7 separate regions of the Homo sapiens genome follow, and all the other regions are linked to region 1. The links are contacts of gene promoters, found by promoter capture Hi-C in blood cells and fetal thymus (Javierre and others, 2016). All regions are on one chromosome and are shown on one strand. The core of a region is centred on a gene start or on the middle of the fragment in contact, and the rest is flanking DNA. Distances in the headings are between cores, read along the strand shown.

Region 1 (3,614 bases), core at 905-3,404:
CACGCCACTTAAAAATGAATTCAGAGTTACTGAACCGGCTCCCCAGACTCAAGAACTTAAGCGCAACGGGCTGGGAAAAGGAGGGGGAGAGGAGCGCAAACGCCGCTGACCTGGGAACTCGGAGGAAACTCGCGGGCAGCGAGCTTCAGGTCTTCTGATACATTGAAGGAAAGAAAGAAAGACAGAAAAAGAAAAAAACAAACTGTCCTGGAGATAGCTAGACATCCAGGGCTGGGAGCTGGGAAAATCAATTGGCATAAGCCGCTGCCGGCGGGCTTCGCGCAACGTAAAAAATAAAGTCCAAGCTGCTCCATCTGCAGCCACCCTTTTCTGGAGTTAAAGGGGCAAGCGGCACCTTTTCTCTATTTCTCAGTTTCCTTCGGTCCTGTAACTTATGGAGTCCAGAAGAAGTAGGATATACAGAAGTCCTCAGTAGTTTTCCCAAAGGGAGACACTGTCTCCTTCCCGCAACCTCCAGACACTGCAGTACAGGGTTGTTAGATATTAGATAGTACGTTTCTCCGTGTGGGCAAAGGCTCGCGGCTTAGGTCTCTAAGCAGATCGAAAGTCGGGGTCCAGACCGAGAGGATCTTCAGGTCTCGTCCACCCAATCTCAAGCCTCTGGAAGGGCGGGCTGCCGGCGACCTCCTCCAGTCCCGGGACCCGGAACCCGGGACCCTGGACGCCGGTGCGGGCGGGCCTGCCCTCCTCTGTGCCTGGCCCCCAGTCTGGCCCTCCTACCTGTTGACCAGGCCTGAACCACGCACCGGGGCTCCGCTGTCTCTGCTTGGCTGCCTTAACCTGCGTGGGTCTGGAGACCGGAGGGAGAAAGGCTAGATCCGCAGCCTTGGGCTGCTCCGAACTTAATGTCTTTCCCCAGTCCATCTTTGAAAGAGAAGTGGTTCTACCACCTGGATGTGCGGATATAAATCCCCTTGCAAATAATAAATGGATTAATAATAACAAGGTATGAAGTTCTTTTTATAGAAAAAAAGGAGAGAATTGAAACTAAATGCGGCAGTTAGACAACCATTTTGATAAGAGGATAATTGAGGCGACACTGGTGTATAATTAGAGGATAATTTATGCTATATCCACTTTTATTCCACCTCCCAAAATAAACCCAGTCCATAATCATTACAGGCAAATTGTTCTGAATTTTATAGCAGCAATTTGAACAAAGTACTGCAGTTAATCATGGGAGATTTTTGTGTATTCCTGATTAGAACTCTAATTGCCTCCTTCCAGAAAGTAAAAATAACTGTAAAACGACTCTATTTTTATCATTAACAATGTTGACAATAAAATAAAATCAATTGGAATTGTAATCGAGAGACAAATTTAGGACGAAGGCACTTTTACTTGGGTAGTTTATATTGTAATCAAGATTTGCCAAACCACTAACCGCATGTATCATTTGCATATATTTGAAAGCATTACAGTAGCTTCTGTTTTCAATAGGAAAAAATGCATTACTGTCAGTCCTCCAACGATTCGTTTTCAGAACACGCTGCTGCGTTCTGAAAAGAAAAAAAAGACGCCCCCCCCCCCCACAACCTTTTGTACAATATATAAGAAATACGGCCTGAAACGGCAGGGACCGAGCCAGAACAGGGTCTGATTTTTCTTTTTCTGTACCACCCCCCAGTGGGGTGGAGCCCAGGTGTGAGGGTTCGTCTTCCTTCTGTGGTTTCAATAAAATACGTCTAGAAAAATCCACGGTGACAAGGAGCTCCCACAAGAGTGTAGTAGGACCAGAGTGGCAGGGACGTCAAGAAAGGGGGGCCTGGATTTAATGCGGGGGTGGGGTCACTGCTTCTAAGCACAGGCAACCTACAAGGGTGCAAAGGGATTGAAAGAGAGCAGCCCCCAGTTGGCTGTTTCAAGGCTGAGATATTGGCAACTGGGGCTCCGGGATTTGGGGCACGAGCTGCGGCGGGAAGCATCGGCGGCCGGCCGGGCAGAGGCGCCTCCCTCCCCAACGGCCCCGGGCGCCACACAGCGCGGCCCCCGGCTGCAGCTCCGGCTGGGATTGGAACTGCGGAAGGTAGGCGAAGAACTCTGCAAGTCGCGCACACGCCAGTAGAAGCCGTGCGCCTGTGACGTCAGGGGGCGACTGACCAATGGGGAGGCACTGCCCTTTGGAGACAAACCATTCGACTCGTGGCGTCTGCATCAAGTCTGAAAGCAGACGCGCAACTTTCGCAGAATCCACCTTAAAATCTCTGCCTTAAACTGCACCAGCCCCCAAAAAATCCAAGGGGGGAAAGCAGGCGGGGGGAGAGCAGATTCCCCCCTCCCCCTCTCCTCTCCCATCCCTCCTCCTTCCTCCTCCCTTTGAGTTAACAAGGCCCCGCTCACTATATCTCTTTATATTAAATATATATATATATTAGAGAAGAGCGAGGGAGAGGGAGAACCACCTCCACCCCCCTCTTTAAATTCTTTTTTTTTTTTTTTTTTTTTTTTGCAAGGATCCAAAGAGCTAAGGTGGCTGCAGAGGGGAGAGCGGCGCGAGCCAAGTGGGGGAGGGTGGAGGAAACCCGGGAGAAGGCTTTCTCCAGCCCCCAAAGTTTTTGATGATGACCATGACTACGATGGCTGACGGCTTGGAAGGCCAGGACTCGTCCAAATCCGCCTTCATGGAGTTCGGGCAGCAGCAGCAGCAGCAGCAGCAACAGCAGCAGCAGCAGCAGCAGCAACAGCAACAGCCGCCGCCGCCGCCGCCGCCGCCGCCGCAGCCGCACTCGCAGCAGAGCTCCCCGGCCATGGCAGGCGCGCACTACCCTCTGCACTGCCTGCACTCGGCGGCGGCGGCGGCAGCGGCCGGCTCGCACCACCACCACCACCACCAGCACCACCACCACGGCTCGCCCTACGCGTCGGGCGGAGGGAACTCCTACAACCACCGCTCGCTCGCCGCCTACCCCTACATGAGCCACTCGCAGCACAGCCCTTACCTCCAGTCCTACCACAACAGCAGCGCAGCCGCCCAGACGCGAGGGGACGACACAGGTGAGAGGCCGCTGGGGCAGCTCGCTTCTCCCGCCTCCCGACTGCCCCCTACCCCGCCCGCCCGCTCACTTCCTCGACGCCCGGGCCTCCGCCGGCCCCCTCCCCCAGGCGGCCCCGCGCGCCCTTGGCCGGGCCCCGTGCGCGCCCGCTCGCCTGGCGCCTGCCTGCCGGCCTCTCCCAGCCGGGCCCCTTCCCGCCGCCGCGGACCCTCAGCTTCCGACGCGCAGTTCGGGCTGAGTCCCGGGCCCGGCGCAGGCTTCGTTCGACGAGTTAGTCCACACTGCGCTCTCCAGCCTCCTGGGTCTGTGCGCCCTTTTCCTTGCTCCTTCCCTCCAGGCTGTAACCCACGTTTGACCCGGCTGGGGACATTTCTGGGCCGGAACTGGGGAGCGTGTTTTGCTTCCCAGCCCACGCTGGGCAGGCAGTGGCCTACTTTGCGTGGGGCGCCCCGTGCTCCTCAGTGACTCGGAGGGAAGCTGGCCTGGCTTTCGCTCTGGTTAAACTAGTAACAGTCAGGCTCTTTCCAGTGGGCTTTAAAGTGTCCCTCACCTTCATCCCTGACCGGGCCCCCTATCTAGCTTTTCGCTACAGTGTTGGCT
Region 2 (3,614 bases), core at 625-3,124, 990 kb before region 1:
TTGTCATTGATATGGTATCACTGCCAATTTTAAAAGAAGAGAACAACTCACATAGAAAATTTCGAAGTGGTGGTGTGTGTCAATCTAGTTCTCAAGACATATCTTTCTGTCAACATACTTGAGTGTACTGTTCAATTAACTTTCAATTATTCCTAATTAGTCTTTGACACCAGTTATATATATGATACATTGGTATAACTGGCATTTGGCAAATATAATAGATTGGCGTGTCTTTCTGAAGCTACGGTTAATTTAAAGATAAGACGGGATCCCTGTAATTGTACTGGTAGAAAACTGGTAGAAGTTTTCCCAAGTGACACATACCGATCAGCATAAAATGTTAACTGCTTCAAAACAATTGAAAAACTTAAAAAATGAAAATATGTTCCTATGGTCTGCCAAAACTATCCTGAAATTTTATCTGCGTTGGTGGGAGGAGGGTTGGGGACAGTGGCAGGAAGCTTATTGTTACATTTTTTTCATGCCATGAGAACAAATTTGAAAAAGTTTTGACAGAAGGTATATGGATTGTGATTGATGTGATGGTTGATAGCACCTCTACTGAGAGAGTAGTTCCACTAATGTAACTTAGGCTTGAAAGATTTATTTTGAAGGAAGAGGGTATATGCACTCATGGGTTGCAAATAACAGCAGAGTTTGGGTTTTTGCTAGTAGGTCTACAGTATGCTCTGTGCGTCTCTGCTTCTGTCTGAAGATTACCATCCTTTCTTTTTTGTTGGTTGTTCTGTTTGAAATGGCAATTGGGAAAGGAGTTTAGTAAGAGATAGGAAGTAGAAAGGAGTTTTAAATCTCTATTCTGCCTGGAACTTTAGCTGTCTCAATATGGGAGTAAACAATTCAAATTAACCTTTTTAGGAAAATCTCACAACAGATTATATTCTATCAGGTGAAAGAAAGTGAAATAGAACTAGGGTACATTTTTAAAGCCAAAACATAAACTCAGGTGAACATGAGCTCGAGTGAGTATGAAGGTTGTTTGTCTGGGAGTGTACAATATATATGTGACCATGACTTTAGCTAGTGATGGGCTGTGGGAATCAGCTGAATTTACATATACTTTGAAGTGCTTAATTTATCATTTTCTCAAAATATTTACAAGTTTATCAAGTATTTGTTGACCACGCTGATAGAATAATGGCCACCCAAAGACATCTCTATTCTTATACCAGGAACCTGTGAATGTTACCTCAAGTGGCAAAAGGGACTTTGCAAATAGGATTAAATTAAGGATCTTTTTTTATTATTTTTTTAAATTTTTTCCATAGGTTATTAGGGTACAGGTGGTGTTTGCTTACATGAGTAAGTTCCTTAGTGGTGACTTGGGGAAGGGTGGATGGGGGTGAGGGATAAAAGACTACAAATAGGGTATAGTGTACACTGCTCAGGTGATGGGTACCCTAAAATCTCACAAATTGAGGATCTTGAAATGGGGAGGTTATCCTGGATTATGTGGGTCGGCCCAGTGTAATCACAAGGGATCTCATAAGTGAAAGAGAGAGAGAGAGGCAAAGAGGGTCAGACTCAGAGAAGGAGATGGGATGATGGAAGCAGAATCAGAAGGTGTGATGTGAGAGAGAGACTTGACCAACCCTTGCTGGCTTTGAGGGTGAAAGGTGGCATGATGCAAGAAATGAGGGTGGCCTCTAGAAGTTGGAAAGAAGGCCAAGAAATTGATTCTCCCCTTTACCCTCCAAAAAGAAACGTAGCACTGTCTACCCCTCGATTTTAGTCCTTCCAACCTCCAGAGCTGTAAGATAATAAATTTATGTTGTTTTAAGCCACTAAGTGTGTCATAATTTGTTTTTGTTTTGTTTTGTTTTGTTTTGTTTGAGACAGGGTCTTACTCTGTCACCCAGGCTGGAGTGCAGTGGCATGATCTCAGCTCACTGAAGCCTCAACCTTCTGGGCTCTAGTGATCCTCTTGCCTCCGTCTCCCAGGTAGCTGGGACTACAGGCATGTACCACCACGCCTGGCTAATTTTTGTATTTTTTGTAGGGACAGGTTTTTGCCATGTTGCCCAGGCTGGTCTTGAACTCCTGGGCTCAAGTGATCCTCTGGCCTTGGCCTCCCAAAGTGCTGGGATTAGCAGGTAATTTGTTACTGCAGCAAGAGCAAATTAATGCTAATGCCTACCAAATCTTAGGAACTGGCTGAGGCACAAAGAACAACACAGAGAGAAGAGAAGCCCATCTCCTGCCCTTCTGAGGCTTCCAACTCCAAAGGATCCATTTTATTGTACCCATGAAGAAATTAAGCCCAACAGAATTAACATGATTTTCACATAGAAAATCAGTCTTGAGTACCAGTTCATGGATCTTTCCACTACGTCTGTATCCTATGATTAGGATGAAGGGGAAAAAATCACATCCTGTCCCTTCCCCACAACCTTTGTGTGTTACCGTAAGGGCTGCTGTCCTCTGACCAGAGCAGGAAACAAACAGCTTAATGACATTCAAATCATTTTTTACTTAGGAGGACTCATCTATAGAACAGAGTCATGCTTTTGCATTCTGAAGAGCTGGAACTCCCTACAGCCATTAAAGAAAGGGAAGATGGCCTGTTCTCTCAGGCAGTGGCCCTTAACTTAATTGAAGAAACTACGTCCTAAAGGAGTTAAGTCCCATGAACAAAGTGACACAGCTATAGAAAGAGAGTCTTTCCAGAACGTGAGTCTCCTGACTCCCTTTTCGGTTTTTGCCCCTTCTCCCAGCAGACATGTAAGGTTCCAGCTGCTTTTTCGGAATCTGAAATAGGAACCCAGTGCCTTTCACTAACCTACTTCCCAGCACACCGTGTGGATTACAAAGGGAAATTAACATGTAAAGAAACCCTTTGGAAACTAAAGGAGCCATGTTAGTTCTCTTGCTATATTATTTGGCTGGTCTCACTGTTGGTGTCATTTTCAAGTGTGGGGCTTGATTTAATAGAGACAGCCAACAACTGTGGATCTAATCAAATGGGGCTCAAAGCACATAACTTTCTGTGTGGGGAACTATAAGAAATATTTTCAAGTTTTGGAATGTTCTGACAGGAATAGGGCAGAAAATATTCAAAGGAAGCTGGAAAATCAAGCTACGGATCTTGTTTTTCAGGTCTGTTATAGTCACTTTGTGAAGTACTGCAGACAATTCATTATAATTTATCACACTGATATTCATAGATTGGATGAAGCCCAAACACAACTGAGTTAGATGCATATTAAATTACCTCTTACTTAAAAGGAGGGTGGTCTTACCAGGGCAGGATGGAGTTCATTAGCAGTCTTAGAAGCTTTCCTTAACTCTTCATTATCTGGTTTCATATTATTCCTGGCTCCACAGGATCATTGAACACCTTCCTTTTTTTCAACTCCTGGAGAATTGCACAAGGCACTTTGTGAATCTCACCAATCAACAATTCCAAAGATAAAAGACACATCATCACAAGTCTATGCACAAAGCAGAAATTACTGGGAAATCTGTTCCTATTCTTTGTATAAAATCATTTTTTTCTTTTTTAGGGAAAAGAAAAAAATACTGCCCTTGTGCATTTTAATTTAGATTTATATGAAGCAAAATGTTGCTTTTTATTATGATAATTGACTGACACATAC
Region 3 (3,614 bases), core at 859-3,358, 970 kb before region 1:
AGTAGAAGAGGTTCAGTATAGTGTTCATAAGACAACTACTCTGTCATTTCCTTTAAAAGAATGACAGGTGTGTACAGCAATTGTTCAGAGGAATGAGAAGACAGGCGTGTCTCCATCAATCCTTGCTACCTTGACACTCAGGGTAACTGATGTTCTTTCTCTGAAATGCCCAAATTATGCCCAAGGATACAGCTTTACTCTTGTTTTCAATTTCCTTAATGTGCTTGCTGCATTTGTTTCATATGCTGGACTCAAAAGCACTCTGGCATGAAAAAGGACTGCCAGCTGTTTAGCTAAGTCCATGAGGAGGAAAAATCTCCTACTCTTGTAAGATTATCAATGGGAAATGACAAATACCAAGTCAGCCCCAATTCTGATTGACTGGGGCCAAAGACACTTGCAGGTGAAACTAGTTCTTGGGAATCTTGGGAAATTGCTCTTGCCTGCCCCATTTCCCCAAACTAATAACAGAAAATTGTGGCCCAGGAGAAGGTGGGCTTGATGCAGGTGTTTGGTGAAGTAGTGTGAAACCATGCCTTGGCCCTGTTTGGATGGCTGGTGTATTTCTGAACATACCTTCTGAAATTTCCAAAATTGTAAATCCAAATGTTAGAACATTTAGCAGTAAGCTTTTGGGGAAAATTCAAAACCAGGAGCTCTTCCAAAAAATTAACATTTCTTTTGTGAGTAACTTAGAGTGTGATCATCACAACTAAAATACTATTATTATCAAACTTACTGATGTTATTTCTGTTAGAAAATAAAATAGGCCAGGCATGGTGGCTCACACCTCTAATGCCAGCATTTTGGGAGGCCAAGACAGGTGGATCACTTGAGGGGTTCGAGACCAGGCTGGCCAACATGGAGAAACGCTGTCTCTACTAAAAATACAAAAAGTAGCTGGGTGTGGTGGTGCACGCCTGTAATCCTAGCTTCTTGGGAGGCTAAGGCATAAGAATCGCTTGAAACCAGGAGGCAGAGGTAGGAGTGTGCCAAGATTTTACCACTGCACTGCAGCCTGGGCAACAGAGGGAGACTTCCTCTAAAAAAAAAAAAAGAAAGAAAAAGAAAGGAAAAAGAAACAAAACTTGTCCACTTTTCGCTTTTGCTGTTTTGTTGTTGTTGTTGTTGTTGTTTTGGTTTTTTTCAGGGGGATTTTGTTTGTTTGTTTTCTCTAATCTATAGCTAAAAGTGAACAGTTAATTTTGTGACTGTCTTTCAACTTTCACTATTGGCTGACTGATTGGTACCAGGATCAAAAAGGAAAAAGAGGCCCACCACAGATTACTCACTAATTTCCTTTCACACCCACCACACATATGCATTTGAGACAACAGGAAATCATAAGTAAAACAAAATCCCTCAGGCACACAGTAAGTTTATTTCCAAGATAAATAAAAACAATCTGGCATCTATACTGGAAAAATGGGTATACTGTAGCTTTCTTCTTCCTTAATGGTAGAGTTGTGTGTGTGTGTGTGTGTGTGTGTGTGTGTGTGTGTGTGTGTGTGTAGGCATGCTCCAGTGTCTGCTTCTGTTTTGGTTTCATTACACCTCTTTTTTCTCTTAAACTGAGTTTTATTACTCATGGAAGCACAGGCCAGTAGTGCTGATTAAAGCCTGGGAGGGGCTGCCACACACACTTTCTCCGGGCACATGGCTCTACACATTCTTCTAGACTTGCTTTCTTTCTCTGCTGGACCTTTCTGAGTCTTAATCCATTAGTGTTTAATGATTTGTGTTGATGCTCAGTGGTTATCAAAGAAGCCCCACTGGACTCTTGTTGAAAAACAAGATGGATTTCAGGTTCATAACAGTATTTGGACCCTGCCTTCCCATTCTTCAGTTTTACTAAGTCTATACCATTTTCAGGTGAAAATTTGTTACATCCAATCTTCCATTTGATTTCCACACAGAGGTTAGCATGCTGTGTGGCTCCGGGCTTGATAATACACTGCCTGGGGCTCTACATACACCAGAGACTTGGGAAAGAGCATTGCCTACAATCCCACAACCAGTCAGCCTTCCTGATACTTAGAGAACTGATTGGGATAACATTTAGCTTCAGATCTCTGCTGTACTTACTATGTGCAGATCCACTAAGGCTGACTCATTTGGAAGTTTCAGTAGGGACATGGTGTGAAAGACATAGGGACTTAGCTGACTGTCCATCAGCACGGGGGAAAGAGGTGATATAATTGTCAAAAAAGCAGATGTAATCTTAGCATGCATTAAATGCAGGCATATTTTTTATCACATGAGAAGTGATAATTCAATGCTACCCAGGTTTCTATATTCTGCTGGTCAGAATATAGGTAGACAGTTCTGTTTTATTCTCAGAACCTCACTGGAAGAGGAATCAGACAAAATACAGCATTTTCAAAAGAGATTCACCAGGATAGGAAAGGTTTTGAAAACCAGGTACCCAAGGAACAGATGAAGGAATTAGTGACAGTCTGGGTAAGAAAAGATTTGGCAGGGAGAGGAGTAACAGGGAACAACTATCTATAAATATTCAAAAAGCTGTACTGTTTTGACTTGATTAGTTTGGTTTGGTCCCACAGGGCACTGCACTGGAAGTATCTCCTTGAACTTTCTTTATCCCCATTAGTGGAAGAAAAAACTCCCCCAGGATACTACGAAAACTGGCTGCCCTTTAAGGAAGGTGTTTAAGCAGAGTTTGGACCACCTCTTGGTTGAGGCAGATGAGTAGCTACATTAGATGATTATTACCACTCCTTCTGACCAGCAGTTTATATGATAATAATAGTTTGGGAACCATCCTTTATACAATAGCAACTTTCCAATATTAAATATTGTTTCATTGTAGTTGTGGCTAGGTATTATGGACAGTAACTCACCAAGGGTAAGACTGATACTGTCAGCTATTTGCACAAAGAAGCACCAAGTAAGTGTGGTTTGGCCACTGGTGGCTGAACTGCCTGAAATCTAACCCAAATTGCTGTAGGTTCTGCTCATAGTAACCTTCCATTTTGTGTTTAATACACAGCTGCAAATGATTTTAGCCTACCGTTTAGAATTCTGCAGAGTGGGATAACCCACTAGAGTATGACAGAGGGTTACAACATCTTGTGTATGGTTCCTGGGATGTATAAATGACCTTTCTCAATGCCCTGGCCAAATCTAAGCCTCTATACTACTGCAAACGGTATTTTGAAAAATAAATATATTATTATCCTAGATTTTGCAGTAACATAGAAGAACCTAATTTTATCTCACCAGGTACATTGTGCCAATAATCTCACCACTAGTATCTCTCCCCCAGATTAAAATGGTTATGAATATTAACCACTTTTTATAAAGAATGTTAACAAATGTTTGGCATTGTGACTATAATGCATTAAACTCCAGATTTAGTAACATGTATTCCTTCCAAAAGTCAGTAGTTCTACCCTTTTGAAGACTGTCTTTTTCCATCACTCTTGTTGAGCTTAGAAGCCAAACTATGCGGTGGAGACTTATTCAAGTAGTTCAAATTCACCTCCCTGCATTGCCTCTGCCCCATCAAACCTCATTTGTTCTAGCGTCCTTCTGTTCCACTGCATTGCATTCTGACTGAGCAAGGTGAAGCTTTATAAGTATTTCCACTATTA
Region 4 (3,614 bases), core at 709-3,208, 960 kb before region 1:
ATCTGAGAAATAAAATCAACCAGATGCAGTGACCAGCAGACCTGATTTGAGAGGGGAGTCAGTGATGATTCTGATATTTCTGTCGTTAGCATCTGAGTGAAGAATGGTGGTGCCAGTGACTGAGACAGGACATGCAAGGGGAGGAGTGGGCTTGGGTTAGAGGTAGGAAATCAGTGGTCTGGGCATGCTTAGACTGAGGTGTCTGGAAATTCCCACAATGTAATTGAAGATATTTGTCTTAGTCCATTCAGGGTTCTATAACAAAACAACTTAGAGTGGGTAACTTATAAACAATAGTCTTTATTGCTCACAGTTCTGGAGGCTGATATGTCCAAGATCAAGGTGCCAGTAGATTTGGTGTCTGGTGAGTGCTCACTGCCTCATAGATGGTGCTTTCTTCTTGCATCCTCACATGGAAGAAGGGGCTAACAGGCTCCTTGAAGCCTCTTTTATAAGGATACTAATCCCATTCATGAGGGTGGAGCCCTCATGACCTAATCATCTCCTAAAGTTCCCACCTTTTAATACTATCACAGTAGGGATCAAGTTTCAACATATGAATTTTGGAGGGACACAAATATTCAATTGACAGCGTAATACTGAAGCTCAGGGGCAAAGGATGAGTTAGAAATATAGATATGACAGTGATCCATCATTTATTCCAAAGGTGAACATTATAATAGAACATGAATTGAAGAGGCTATGAATGCAATCTTGGACCTGCTGATGCTGCAGGTGCTGAGGCGTGAGAACAGGATGCTCAATAAAGAATGTGATAAAGACTGTTAAACACCAGAGATATCAAGAAATACACAGATGGCAAGGCAAGAAGAGGGTCACGTGGACCTCAGTGAGAACACTTTTAGTGGAGCACTGGAGACAGATTGTGAGTGGTTGCAGAGTGAAAAGGGAAGACAGTAGACACAGAAAATATAGACTAGTCTTTCAGACATGAGGCAGTGAACATAAGGAGATAGAGAGGCGACTAGCAGGGAAAGCCAGGCCAAGGAAGGATTTTATTATTATACTCTCTGAGAGACCTGAGTATATTTGCGGCCTGAAGAGGAGCCAGTGAAAGGTGTATGGTTTAAAAAATGGAGGAACAGAATTCACCGCTATATAACTCATCCATGTAACAAAAAGCGACTTGAACTCCAAAAGCTATTGGAATAAAAATTAAATTAAAAGAAAAAACCAGAGGAAGATTATTTCAAGTGACCATGTCAGGTTTAGGATAGGGAGAAGAGGCAGGATATTGGCAAGACTAAAAAAAGGCTTACAAGTAAGTTTAGCTACATGGAAGTGGAGGGAGAAGGAGGAAAGAAGAGAAGGTCCCCCATTTCTTCGGTGGAGTCAGAGGCAGTTATCTGTTAACGATGATGGGAACTGGGATGTGGTAGGGAGAGGAAGGAGGATTAGACCAGGTCCTGTAAGAGATGGGACAGGGCCCTGAACTGCATAGATTTGAGGACCAGCTGGGGCTAAATATCACAGATGTATTTCATAGGTGATATCTAATTTAAATTTTATGAGGTGATAAGAAGAGTGCCAAGAATTGTGTAAAATTGCCATTGTGGAATCTCTTACAGGAATCTCCTGAATCTGACATTCAAAGCTGTCCACAGTCTGTCCCCACCATTACTAGAGCAGGTGAACAGATCCAGGTTTGGGAGATGCACCACTTCTTTACAATTCTTCCAAGCCAGTGTTCTCAAAATGTGGCCCCAGATCAGAAGCAACAGCATTACCTGGGGCTTATTAGAGATGCAAACCGTCTGGGCCCCACCCCAGACCTTCTGTGTCAAAAACTCTGGGGATGGGAGCCAACAATCTGTGTTTTAGAAGCCTTCCAAGTAATCCAGATGTTGCTAAAATATAAAGAGCCATGCCCTAAACCACCGTAAAGTTCTATTTCAAACATCCCATCCTACAGAGCTGGTGGGGCAGTTCAGTTACATTGAGGGACCCTTCCTTTCTCCCAGGGTTGTGTTAGAGAACTGGGGATCTAGTTTAGGGTTCAGACAGGAGAATGAAAACTATTGTCCCACCTGCAACAAGGTTTCCTCATATAATGAATATGCTACATGTTCTGGCCAGAGGTTTGTACGGTGAATGTATTTGAAACCCCAAATTAATTCTAACCCTTTATGTTGTCCTAAACAGTTACGCTTGAAACTTGACAATATGGGCTAATGGCTTTCTCCTCTTCTTAATCTCTATGAGCGTAAAATTTAAAGGAAGCAATCACATCTCTTAAAATTACTAATCACAGGCCGGGCACAGTGGCTCACGCCTGTAGTCCCAGCACTTTGAGAGGCCGAGGCAGGCAGATCACAAGGTCAGGAGATTGAGACCATCACGGCTAACACGGTGAAACCCCGTCTCTACTAAAAATACAAAAATTAGCTGGGCATGGTGGCGGGTGCCTGTAGTCCCAGCTACTCGGGAGGCTGAGGCAGGAGAATGGCGTGAACCCAGGAGGCAGAGCTTGCAGTGAGCCAAGAGTGTGCCACTGCACTCCAGCCTGGGTGACAGAGCAAGACTCCATCTCAAAAAAAAAAAAAAAAAAAAAAATTACTAATCACATTTTGCAGGACTATGGCTGAAAATAACCTTTATCTTAATAAAAGAGGCAAAGTAAAAAAAATACTCTCTTGAAAATATTGGAAATGGAGTTTTTTGGCCTTTTTCCATCTTACTGACAATGAGAATTTTCATGGAAGTGTAGCGGAGACAAAGATATGAGATGGGTAATTATTGTAGTCCCTTTTGACAATAATGATTACCTTCATAATCTTTACTTTAAACTTATTGGGTAACTTGGAGTCATCTTATCATTTAAACAAGGCAAAGAAGTTTATAATAGAGTCTTAATAGGATTAGTGATAGCCTCACACTTCAGCTTGTAAATTAAATAACATAAGGAAAAATCCTCCAAATCGTAGAAAGAATTGGTGCTAAGAGACAACACTATGAAATAGAATGAAATCAAATTTTTTAAAAGTCTGCAATATAATACTTTGTTGATAAAATACAGTATAGTGGTGGGGCACAGTGGCTCACACCTGTAATCCCAGCACTTTGGGAAGCCGAGGTGAGCGGATCACCTGAGCTCAGGAGTCCGAGACCAGCCTGGGCAACATGGTGAAACCCCGTCCCTACTAACAATACAAAAAATTAGCCACGCATGATGGCTCATGCCTGTAGTACCAGCTACTCAGGAGGCTGAGGCAGGAGAATTGCTTGAACCTGGAGGGCACAGGTTGCAGTGAGCCGCTGCACTCCAGACTGGATGACAGAGAGAGACTCCATCTCAAAAAAAACAAACAAACAAAAAAAAAAACAGTATAGCTCAAAAAGATAACCAGAAAAGATCAAAAGCAAACAATTCGACAACAAGAAAATTTGGCAACAGAAATATGCATTTTATACACTCTACTGCCCAAGAATTCACATGTCTAACATAATAATAAAATATTAAAAAAGGAAGTCTGTATTCGAGGGGGAATGTCATGCTGGAATTAGCACAGTGAGCAAAATGAATCTCACCCTGAAGCCTATAGAGAAGTCCATATGAATTCACTTTGCATAGCTAAATGATTGCCAGAGAGACA
Region 5 (3,614 bases), core at 548-3,047, 940 kb before region 1:
GTTGTGTCCCTGGGGTGGTTTGACCTGTTTGTATTAGCTTTCCACTCTCCATCCATATTTGTCCCGGTGGTATCAGGAACATCACAGAACTATGAGTATGACTTAAAGCTAAGTTGAAAAGAGGCTCTGCTGTCTTCAGAAAGGGGAATATATGTGTATGTGTGTGTGTGTGTGTATATATATGTGTGTGTGTGTGTGTGTGTGTGTATGTGTGTGTTTTCTTTCATTACAGGCAGCCTGCCTCTTTCAATGGAGGCGCAATATAGCTGATGGTTGAGCCGTAGTCATTGATTGCAAAGGGATGTGTTTAGGAAGGAGAGAAATAGCTGCTCAGAAATTGCCTTCTTTCTCTCTCAAATTGCACTGTTGGGGGAATTACATAAGTGCAGAATTGTGGGGAACTGTGCGCATGTGTCTGTGCATTAGAGGCCAAGAGGAAAAAAAAAGTCTGCCTTCTCTTCTCATTTGAGAATTATGTTAGTTTGTTAGGGCTGCCATAACAAACTACCACAACCTGGTTTAAACAACAGAAATGCATCCTCTCATAGTTCTGGAGGCTAGAAGTTCAAGATCAAGGTGTCATCAGGGTTGGTTTCCTCTGAAGCCTCTCGCTTTGACTTGTAGGTGGCTGCCTTCTCCCTGTGTCTTCACATGGGCTTCCCTTTGTACACGTTTGTGTCCTAATCTCCTCTTTTTATAAGAACACCAGTCATACTGGATTACAGCCCGCCCATACAACCTCATTTAATCTTAATTATTTCTTTAAAGACCTTACCTCCACAAACAACAGTCTCATATTCCAAGGTACTGGAATTAGGACATCACCATATGAATTTGATGATGGAGAGAGAGGGTGATAATTCCACCCATAAGAGCTAAAGATATTTCATTATCACAATTGATCCTTGGTTATGGACAAATAAAGAGTTAACCATAAGGCCTTTCACTACCGCCACCTCCTAATCCTTATATTGAAGGGCTCCAGTCTCTCCAAGGCTGAATCCCAGAGGCAACAGAACCTTGAAGGACCCATGGATGTCGAGGGAAAGCAGCGGGAACAGTTGATGCAATGTGGTTAGCGGGAGAGGTGGCTTGGCTGATGCTGAATGCAGAGACCGTTGATCACCATCTTCAGAATACATTTACTGACTGGTGCAGGGTATTTAGTTGCCCTGTGGTGCTGGTTTGGATTCAGGCTTCTTTAGAGTCAGTGCTTGTTTCTAAGCATCATTGTTCTTCTCCAGACCAAACATATCAGAATATTTCATGGAAAGAAATATTCATATCTCTCTCTCTCTCTCTCTCTCTCTCTCTCTCTCTCTCCCTCTCTCAGTGTCTCTCCAATTGAAATTTGTGTGTTTCAGGGACATACTGATGCTTTAAGTCAAAGGATAAGTTTATTTGTTTTTAATGAGATACAATTAATCAGACATTTAATTTCCATTGCTTTGTCCCTGTGATCCACAGGAAATTTGTGGCTAGATTTCCTACTATCCAACTCACTAGTGGCCTACCTTTCATTACGATTTTTCATATAGCTTTCTTGCTCAGTAGCAGTTTCCTGATCTTTTCCCGTGGTGTTCAAACATGCTGAAATCTTTGCCATGACTGGGCAGCAAATGTGACCTTCATCAGAGGTTACATCTCAAGGTACCAAAGTGAGGGGAAAGGTTCTGAACCAAGGTAACATGCTAGAAGCACAATAGTTATCCCAAGGAGGATGCCAAATCAAAAATCCATTTGAGAGAGTAGAGGTTTGGTCCTGGGGAGTCTAGGAAAGCCCAAGCCCAGAGCATCAGAGGAAGGCTGAAGGCTCTGTTCACAGGTGTCAGACAAAATAGGACTGAACTCAAGGCTGCGTTCATCACCTAATTACAGTCCATCTTATCTGCCTTCCATTTGCCAGATTGTATGCCAAGTGCTTGAGACAGAAAGCAAAGTAAGAAATGGTCCAAAAAATCAAGGATGGTGTATCTAAATGGACAGTGGGTGGTCTTAAGGCAAAAAAAAAAAGGCAGCCCTAGACACACACTCATGTAGTAGTGTTATGATTTGCTTAGATATTAGTGGTTGATGATTAGATGGGTTCGATTAAAATATCTCAAACATGGCCTAAAATTTGGGTTAGCTTGCAAACCACTTGAAGAATCAGCGTGCACCCACATGGACCATTGCCACATTTGCCAACCACCCTCAACCAACCATATTAATCTTCCAACACTTCTCAGTTTAAGACCATCAACGAATTCCTAATTGCTACATTCAATGGTTTCTTGGTATTATCCACCCCTCATTCCTGCAGCTCTCTCTAGCCCAGTTATGTTCTCCTGCTTTGTCTAGGTCCTCTCCACTGGTTCTCTCTCTTCTACTCTCTCAGCCCAAATGCTCAAAATTTCCTCCATAGTCCTCCTTCTTCTCCATCCTCCCCACTCTTTTCTTTTTTTCTTTCTTTCTTTTTTTTTTTTTTTTTGAGACAGGGTCTCTCTCCGTGGCTTAGGCTGGAGTTCAGTGGCATAATCATGGCTTACTGCAGACTCTATCTCCAGGATTCAATTGATCCTCCCACCTCAGCCTTCCAAATAGCTGGGACTACAGGCATTCATCACCATGCCTGGCTAAATTTTTGGTTTGTTTGTTTGTTTTGTACAGACAGGGTTTCGCCATGTTGCCCAGGCTGGTCTCAAACTCCTTGGCTCAAGCAATTTGCCCGCCTTGGTCTCCCAAAGCGCTGAGATTACAGGCGTGAGCCACCGCGCCGAGCATCCCGGCTCTTTCCTCTCCCACAGCACCTCGTGTGACTGATTCTTTAGTGTGGACTTCAGGCCCACTCTCTCTTTCAACTTCAGACCTGCACTTCCACTGTCAGCCTAACCTGAGTGTCTCTACCAGAGACTCAAATGCACTGTGTTTAAAATACAGATCAGACCTTCCTCTATTTCTCTATTTTTTCTATTTTCTACTCATTTAATGGTATTCGTCATTCAGTTGACTGCACTAGAAAAGCTGAAAACACTCTTGTGAATGTTAAACATCTCTGAATCTGTTTAGCACATAGCACATTTATCAATGCACATTTAATACATTAATAGCTAATTGCAGCAAAAAGTTTTAACTACATACCCAAGACTTTTCATAACATACCCCACTTTTCCCCTACCCAAACCAAAATTATTTTGTTTTCATTATTTCTTAGGACAAATCCTCAGAGTTCACTCAGGCTGTCCCCACCTCTCATCTTTATATCCGTCTGGGAATACCATACTGACTTAACCAGGTTTTTGCATGTTTTGCTCTCCTCTTCTTGACTGTTTTCCTTACCATCTGTCAAAGTCTATGTATCTTTCAAGGCAGGTTCCCTCACCTGTCCTAGATAATACCATCCTTGACCACATCAGACTCTGGTAACACCAACACACCACTACCACCCCCAATCTTCAAATTCCTCTGGCACCTAACATCTGTACCACAGAATTTAGCACCTGGCTACATACTTGTTCTCTTTCTTTGGTATAAACAAGGCAGAGAGCCAGTCTGTTTTCCAGTGATTTGCAGACATGGTAAATTCCTCCCAGAGTTTTTCCCAGAATTGTGTCTTTGAGGGGGAATTTATATTC
Region 6 (3,614 bases), core at 441-2,940, 910 kb before region 1:
AAACAACTTCAATAAACTTTTTTTCAAAAGGTCATTTTATGCCCAGGGAAAATGAAAACAAATAGCGGTTGAGTCATGAAAAACATTCGAAGACAGGCTTTCGGCTTTTTAGGAAGGGAATTCCCATTGGGACTTTGTTGGTAGGGATTCCTTCAACTGTACGGTTTCTTTTATTTTTAAAATAGTATCATACTTTTTCTCCAAGTAGCCTACAATATTTAGATATTGAAATCCTTTGTAAACAATAAAAATTTTATAGATAACAAATGAGTATCTGGAATAGGTTTAAAAGCATTTGAATGAAAAGTACTGGGAAAAAAAGTTTCACAGACATACAGTAAAGTACCTAAGAATAAAAATGCAAAACGCGTGCATTATTATGATAGACCAAATTGAATGATTCGGTGAGTGATGATGTGAAAAGTACAAAGGCCTGAGTCACTTACAGTAGGCACATAAAATGTTACAAGAACATGTGTTCTTATATATCCCACTGTGGTAGCTGGTCTCCAAGGCAGTTCCCAATTCTTGTGCAGGCCATCCCCTGTTGAATCCAGGCTGACGTTATGTGACTGACACAATACTGGGAAGTGATGCTACATGGTTTCCATTATGTCTTAGTTAATTCAGACTGCTACGTGGTTTCCAGGATGTCTTAGTTAATTCAGACTGCTATAACAGAATACTGTGGTATTCAGACTGAGTGGCTTAAGCAACAGAACTGTATTTCTCACAGTTCTGAAAGCTGGGAAATCCAAGGTCAAGATGCTGGCAGATCTGATATCTGGTGAGGGCCATCTGCTTAGGTTGCAGATGGCTATCTTCTCATTGAATCCTCACATGGTGAGGAGAGAGAGAGATGATCTCTTTCATGTCATTACTTATAAGGGCACTAATCACATTTATATGGGCTCCACCCTCATGACCCAGTTATCTCCCAAAGGCCCACCTCCAAAAATCATCACATTGAAGATTTAGGCTTCAACATATGAATTTGGGAATGAACATAAACATTCAGTCCACAGCCCAGGGCAAGGTTATAAGAAGACATATATCCTCCACCTAGGTTTCTTGGCACAATCAATCTTGGTCCCTGAGCTACTATGTAAGAAGCACAACTACCCTGAGACTTCCAGGCCACACAGAAGCTGACCATGGAGTGGTCATGTAGACATAAGAGAAATACACAGCCAGTCCACAGCCATTTAAGTCACCCCAGCTGATGTCCCAGATGAAATGTGGTAGCCAGAAAGATGTGCCTTTCAGATTTCCTATTGCAGAGAACATGGTTGAATGACAGTTATGATGCCTTGCTTTGAAACCCATTACCAAGTTTGACCAAGGTCATGCTTCCTGCATGCTCTTGCCAGCCAAGACTAAGTATGGCAAAGATCCTAAGGCTGGCCTGTATCTAGGAGACATAAGACTTCTTTGAAGTAACTTTGGCTCCAGGACTTTATGTCAGCATTGCTAAAACTTTCTCAGAACTGTACTTCAGTCCAAGACTAGCTGACTTTCTTCTCTTCCTCCCTTCCTCCCTCCCTCCCTCTCTCCCTTCCTTCCTTCCTTTCCTTCCTTCCTTCCTTCCTTCTTTCCTTCCTTCTTTCCTTCTTCTCCTCCCTTTCCCTCTCTCCTTCTTGAGGCCTGACAAACATCACTGTCTGATGGCTGTCCTGCCTAAGCTGGCTAGGGATGTCCTAGGCCTTATAAAAGAACAAAGAAACTACCTCAAAAGAATTGCAAAAATTAGCATGTACCATTAGGAGCCCGGGGAGTAGCACTGGGATTAGATTTTGAGGTGTTTAATCAAGGGAGCCAGAATGTTGATTAGATAAGGAATAATTCATTGACTTTGAGGGTTTTGTGTGTGTGTGTGTGTGTGTGTGTGTGTGTGGTAAGGAAGAGGGAAGCTATATGACTTTATACTCTGGCAAGGAGCCTAAAGAATAGGGTCACTCTTCGAAGTCTGAAAAAGCTGTAGCCTACATTCACTAGAGTGAAAATGTCTGAGTTGCCCTGGTAGTACAGGAAGGAATAAAGAGGTTGAAGGAAATGGGTATGTTAGAATAGATATATTATTTAAGTTCAGAAGACACACTCAAGGGTTATGTTACATAGGAACACCCAGAGTACACACCCTTCAAAGCCATTTGCAATGAGCTGGTGAGAGAGGCATTAGCATCTCTAGAATGTTTAGCAGTAGCTTTCCTTTGTAGGTCAGGGCTGATGGTAGGAGAGGCAGTCACAGAGTGGGGCTTGCTCACATCCATGGGGATGATGAGACCCCAGAGTAATAGTGGCTAGGTGGTGGCAGTTAACCACCAGAAGTCAGGAAGCCACAACTGCCATAATGACCAGCTAGATCAGAGAGCAGCCAAGAAGGCTTTACCCATAGGAAGTTGTGGGAGTAATTAAAAGAACGTGGCATTCCTAGTGGCAAAATAGACAGGCAGCCAAAAGGGTGTTGCTTAACTTCTATGACCAAAAACATAGAGCAAGAATGGAGACGCAGGAGACTGAAGACTGTTACCTCAATAAAAAGCCACATACCTCTGCTCACTGTCCAGTCCTGAGCCAGTTTTCCAATCCAGAAACCATTGACTGAAGATTGCTAGGAGGTTGCTAGGAGGGAGGACACCAGGAGGGAGGACACCACTGCAAACATCTATTGTGATGATCTCCCCAGTCCTTCCCCAAAAGGACCTATGGGCATTTATTCAGGTGAATATACAATGCAGAAAGAAACAAACCAACATTTGAAGACTATTGGGTACATTATCTGGGTTCACACTGAAATGTTATTGGAGTGGTGGCTTACGGCAACAAGGTAATGTAATGGAGTGTTTACTAAAGTCTAGGTCTCAATGGGCTCATTAGGTCTATGTACACACACAGTGGGTCATTCCGTCATTCCTCCAATCCTTGAGTGTTCAATTAGAATTGATATACTTACATCAGGTACCTGGCCTCTGGGATAAGAACTCTCACAGAAGGGAGGGCCAAATGGAGACCTCTGAAATTGCCACATTCTCATCTTCCCCTGCCAAGATAGCAAATACAAAATATTACATCTCAGGGTAGAGCTAGGAGGATGGCAGAGATTGGTGCCACTCTTAAAGGCCTAAAAGATATAGAGTGGTGTTCCCTATAATATATCTATTTAATAACCCAGTATGCCCCCTTTATAAATTAAATGGATCTTGGAGAATAACTGATGAGTACTGCAAGCTCAACCAAGTAAGATCACTGATCACAGCTGCCGTACTAGATGTGGTGTCATCCCTAGAACAGATTAATAAGGCTTCTGGTACATGGTATGTGGCCATTGATGGATGAATGCATTCTTTTTCATTCCACCTATAAAACAAGATCAGAAACAGTTTACACTCATGAGAAATAATTATTTTAATTTACAATTTTGCCTTGGGGCTATGCTAATCTCTCTCCCTCTGTAATACTCCAAAGATGCCTAGACAGCTTGAGCATCCACAGAATGTTACACTGATCCATTACATCAATGGTATCACACAGACTATGCAGAATAAGCAAGAATTAACTAATGTACCAGATGCCTTGGTAAGATATATGCACTCCAGAGGGTGGGAAATAAAATC
Region 7 (3,614 bases), core at 642-3,141, 860 kb before region 1:
ATGCAGTGGAAAAAAACAACGCCTTTGATTAGAACACAGCAGACAGAGTCCATATTCCTAAGTGACCCTCCAAGGTAGAATCAAGGTTTAATTTGTGATTATAGAATTTGAAAACTTTTCAACAGTGCTTGATGGATCCCAGCTGTCATTGCTTCACTGACCATGTTTTGTACTCAAAAAGAGACATGGACAGTTCCACTGCTTCCTAACGAAGCGTCTTTTTGGCCTAATTAGCTGTGCTGCCATTTACTGTTAAATGATAAGTTTCATTCCATTCCTAAAGTATAATTTGTCCCCTCATTAACGCTCTGACAGCTCCTACGGAAAAGGTAATGTTCAAAAGTAGATGGATACAACTTTTTTTGCTATGTTAAGTTTATTTGACTTTTATTTTTATGCTCCAGGGGTTTATGCAATAAAACAGAAGTTATGCAGGGAAAGGGAAATACATTCTCATAATTCTTTTTAAAAAGAAGTAGACATTGCAGATTTGTTTTCTTAGCTACATTACATTCAAATAGCTCTTTCAAAGGCAATTAATTATGCTGCCTTCACTTCAGTCACCTACATCCTCTGTGCTATAACTAAATCTCTCTAAATGTTAGCATTTTAGAGGGGGGCTTTATTTACATTGTTTACTATATTTGTGCTAAACTATTTCTTACTTTAGGAATGCAAAATGTTTACCATTTTCCACTTTTTTTCAGTTGCAAATGTATTTCTAAAACAAGTATTCTAATTGCCACTTACTGGGAAGTCAGAATAGTTTGCTTATTTTGCAAGTCAATACAGAAGAAAAACAGAAAGCCTGATTTTCCAATTTAGGTAAGGTTAAAGCTCAGCAGGCCTAAACACACAGACAGAGCCAACCACTCACCCTTCTTGGGTCTGGCATTGTAATGTTAACAACAGAAACAAAAGAACAGAGGGAAGGAGAAAGATTACCTGTCTCAACTAAATCTAGGACAGTGGTTCTTCTTTTTAAAGACCCACCTGGAGGGACACATACCAGGTTTAAAAGTACTGTGTGAGGTCACCCCTAGTCATTTGCATTTTTCTAGCCAACCAGGACTAGAAACAGAAAAGCTTTATTACTAAAAAGTGCTATCCTGAAACAAAAACACATTAAACTACAAAGCAATGCTAATGCTGTGATGCTCCCTAGAAAGATGGATCTTAACCTGCTGTGATGTCTGACCACGTAAAGGTGAAGTGGGGTGGGGCTGGAGAAGAGAGGTTCACATGAAACAAAGCCCAAGACAGAATGCTGGGAATATATAAATGAGGACCAACCAGACTTGTAATACAAGAGCTAATCAGACTGAAAGGAGACCAAACCACAGAGGTCAACATCTGCTGAATGAAATCCTGACTCCCGGGTCTCTGAATGTAGCTGATACTGATGACCAACAGGAAGATAGAGATTACTAGGTCACTTTCTTGCAACAAAATCAAGGTTCCAGAAGCTCAAAGCATTACTGATTTTCTTGGTAATTACCAGTACACCAAAAACAGCATTTTAGAAGGGAGCACCAAGCCCTGTGGAATGCTTCTGAACTAGATTAAACTACTAGACTAGTAATTAAACTAACTTCATATGGGAGAGTTCTCTTGCTCAAACTTGAGCAATCCTGCTCATTTCAGGAAAGCAATTTTAGCACAAAAGTGGAAACAAGAAACTTCTGAGCCTCAATTTCAGCTCAGATACCATGGTTGGCAGCCTCTATTCACCTGAACTACAAAACCAGGATACCAACTACTTCCAAGAAGTGTTAAAGGGGATTAAGATTATTAAATAATGTGAAGATGAAAAGCACTAAGTCCCAGTATTGTATCATTTGCAGGTAGTTTAACAGTCTCTGTTTCTGTATCAGCAAACAAGTTCCTACCATTTTACTCATCTAGACATTTCAATAACAGTCACTGCCACAGTACCTAAGTGCTTTTTACCAGACAACCCATTGAAAGACTCCTGGCATCTTGTCAAAATGACATGCTGCTACATCATATTACAGACTGCAAGAGCCTAAAAATTTAGAAAAGATGATTTTTCTTCAAATTGATCAATGCTATGCCTCATGACAACAGTGTTTATTTTTTACAGCTGGGTAATAAATTGGTAAGCAAAATAGCTATAGAACATTGTGTTATATTGTAGAATCACAGATTGAGCATTTTAAGTTCTACTTAAAAAAACAGCAGGTTTATTCCTAAGTACCACATATGCCTAAATATAAGGCAAAATTTTCCCCTGCTAAAATTAATCCCAGAAAAGAGGGCATCACTTTATATTCAATCTTCACAAAGTCTCAGATCATGGAGTACTCTTTCCAATCACTTGACCTGGAGAAGCAGAGTACCATTCGGGGAAGGGAGATTCTCCTGAGACAGCCACAATTATTACTAATTCTGGATGTTTACTGAGGTCACTTGCAAAACTCAGGTTAGAAAGAAAAAGAGTAAAAAAGTATTTCTGGGAGGAGGATCTCACAAATACTGTGTCAAATGTCAAAACAAGTCATTTCAAGTTTACTCTAGCAATATGGTAAGTTGTTACATTATGGGGACCAGTTATATCCATTCAGGATTAACTGGGAATAGGAAAAAAGCAATTGACTGTCTTAATATTATGTGTCTATGGGATAAAATTTGCAGGAACAATATCATACATAAAAGTCAAAAATGCTTCAAATTACAAAGCTTGGGATAAAAATGAAGACAATGTATTCTGCAAAACCATGCTAACAGATGACCTAAAAAGTGGGTTAAATGGAGCTCAAGATGCTGATTCAAAATTCATGAATAATTTTAATATTTCTTGATATGTGTTTATAGAAACAAAGCAGTATTAATTTTATATAATGTGACTGTATACATTTCTGTGTAAATAAATGAAACTATCTTAAGTAGACATTTTATTTTTCTCCCATATCCCTAAAGGTTTACTTAGTCAAGCTAGCGTAAAATGTTTTTTTAAAAAATTCTTCATTGAAAACTTGTGTATACATTATGTTTGATAAAGCCTTATAGGTTGGCATATAGGCAGACAGTTCTAGTAAATTCCATTATAACTTTTTGGTAGAGCAGTATGAATAAAAAATTTCAAGAATCATCTAGAAGTTTGGTTTTGTAATCATTCTGAAAAAACATTTTCTAAATGAAAAATGATTAAGATTTATAATAATTAAGACAAGGCATACATATATAGAGAAAACATGGATCGGACCATATGCATAGGATCAGAAAATAAATTATGATACAGGTTTCTCCTTGAACTGAACTCAGCGTATCAATAACAAATCCAAATAAAATTCTAGCCAGTGTTGCTGCAAAGAGCTGCACTGAACAACTCTAGAGGGCACGATTCCTATCATAGTCATCCTAGATTTGTGTATTGATGAGGATAGTTTTTTGGCAGATGGCAGGAAGGGGCACCTCCTTCTAATTGGCATGAAGGTGCCTCTGCAGCTTGGGTAGAACATCTTCTCCAGGTGTAGAAATGCAAAAAAAAATGGATTTCATGTTGAAGAATAGTTTCTGCATTAGGAGATGAGAAAGTAATCAAATAAATGACTAAAAAAAAAAAAAAGTTACCTTGTAGATCCCAAAAAACC

The links. The method cuts DNA at HindIII sites, captures the fragments that hold promoters and counts their contacts. A CHiCAGO score of 5 or more calls a contact.
Region 2: a fragment that was not itself captured here is called in contact with the fragment with the promoter of DLX6 in region 1 in 1 of 17 cell types (monocytes); the score reaches 5.4 in monocytes.
Region 3: a fragment that was not itself captured here is called in contact with the fragment with the promoter of DLX6 in region 1 in 1 of 17 cell types (naive CD4 T cells); the score reaches 5.4 in naive CD4 T cells.
Region 4: a fragment that was not itself captured here is called in contact with the fragment with the promoter of DLX6 in region 1 in 8 of 17 cell types (naive CD8 T cells, naive CD4 T cells, total CD4 T cells and 5 more); the score reaches 9.4 in naive CD8 T cells.
Region 5: a contact is called between a fragment that was not itself captured here and the fragment with the promoter of DLX6 in region 1, in 12 of 17 cell types (naive CD8 T cells, naive CD4 T cells, naive B cells and 9 more). The highest score is 10.4, in naive CD8 T cells.
Region 6: a fragment that was not itself captured here is called in contact with the fragment with the promoter of DLX6 in region 1 in 6 of 17 cell types (naive CD8 T cells, total CD4 T cells, non-activated CD4 T cells and 3 more); the score reaches 6.4 in naive CD8 T cells.
Region 7: a fragment that was not itself captured here is called in contact with the fragment with the promoter of DLX6 in region 1 in 1 of 17 cell types (naive CD4 T cells); the score reaches 6.2 in naive CD4 T cells.

What each region holds. Positions count from the first base shown.
Region 1 is chr7:97,003,399-97,007,012 of GRCh38, forward strand. DLX6 (distal-less homeobox 6) reads left to right here and starts at 2,155. Exons shown (of 3, transcript NM_005222.4): 1 at 2,155-3,015. The coding sequence starts at 2,580. The region is part of intron 1 of DLX6-AS1 (DLX6 antisense RNA 1); the gene reads right to left. RefSeq lists an enhancer at 872-1,593 and a silencer at 2,906-3,005. The HindIII fragment of the contact is 12,379 bases long and covers 1-3,614 here.
Region 2 is chr7:96,011,627-96,015,240 of GRCh38, forward strand. The region is part of intron 10 of DYNC1I1 (dynein cytoplasmic 1 intermediate chain 1); the gene reads left to right. It overlaps LOC124901700 (a long non-coding RNA gene), which reads right to left. Exons shown (of 3, transcript XR_007060440.1): 3 at 3,322-3,373. Among named protein-coding and RNA genes, the nearest start is that of MIR591, 210 kb to the right of the region's middle. The HindIII fragment of the contact is 2,831 bases long and covers 460-3,290 here.
Region 3 is chr7:96,028,866-96,032,479 of GRCh38, forward strand. All of the region lies in intron 11 of DYNC1I1 (dynein cytoplasmic 1 intermediate chain 1), which reads left to right. All of the region lies in intron 1 of LOC124901700 (a long non-coding RNA gene), which reads right to left. Among named protein-coding and RNA genes, the nearest start is that of MIR591, 190 kb to the right of the region's middle. The HindIII fragment of the contact is 2,962 bases long and covers 628-3,589 here.
Region 4 is chr7:96,046,707-96,050,320 of GRCh38, forward strand. The region is part of intron 14 of DYNC1I1 (dynein cytoplasmic 1 intermediate chain 1); the gene reads left to right. LOC124901701 (a long non-coding RNA gene) reads left to right here and starts at 3,276. Exons shown (of 2, transcript XR_007060441.1): 1 at 3,276-3,614. The HindIII fragment of the contact is 7,205 bases long and covers 1-3,614 here.
Region 5 is chr7:96,062,926-96,066,539 of GRCh38, forward strand. All of the region lies in intron 14 of DYNC1I1 (dynein cytoplasmic 1 intermediate chain 1), which reads left to right. Among named protein-coding and RNA genes, the nearest start is that of MIR591, 160 kb to the right of the region's middle. The HindIII fragment of the contact is 9,866 bases long and covers 1-3,614 here.
Region 6 is chr7:96,098,789-96,102,402 of GRCh38, forward strand. It overlaps a transcript of DYNC1I1 not described here. Among named protein-coding and RNA genes, the nearest start is that of MIR591, 120 kb to the right of the region's middle. The HindIII fragment of the contact is 4,033 bases long and covers 1-3,614 here.
Region 7 is chr7:96,142,962-96,146,575 of GRCh38, forward strand. It overlaps SLC25A13 (solute carrier family 25 member 13), which reads right to left. Exons shown (of 18, transcript NM_014251.3): 14 at 3,595-3,614. Among named protein-coding and RNA genes, the nearest start is that of MIR591, 75 kb to the right of the region's middle. RefSeq lists enhancers at 94-929, 930-1,764. The HindIII fragment of the contact is 1,614 bases long and covers 1,085-2,698 here.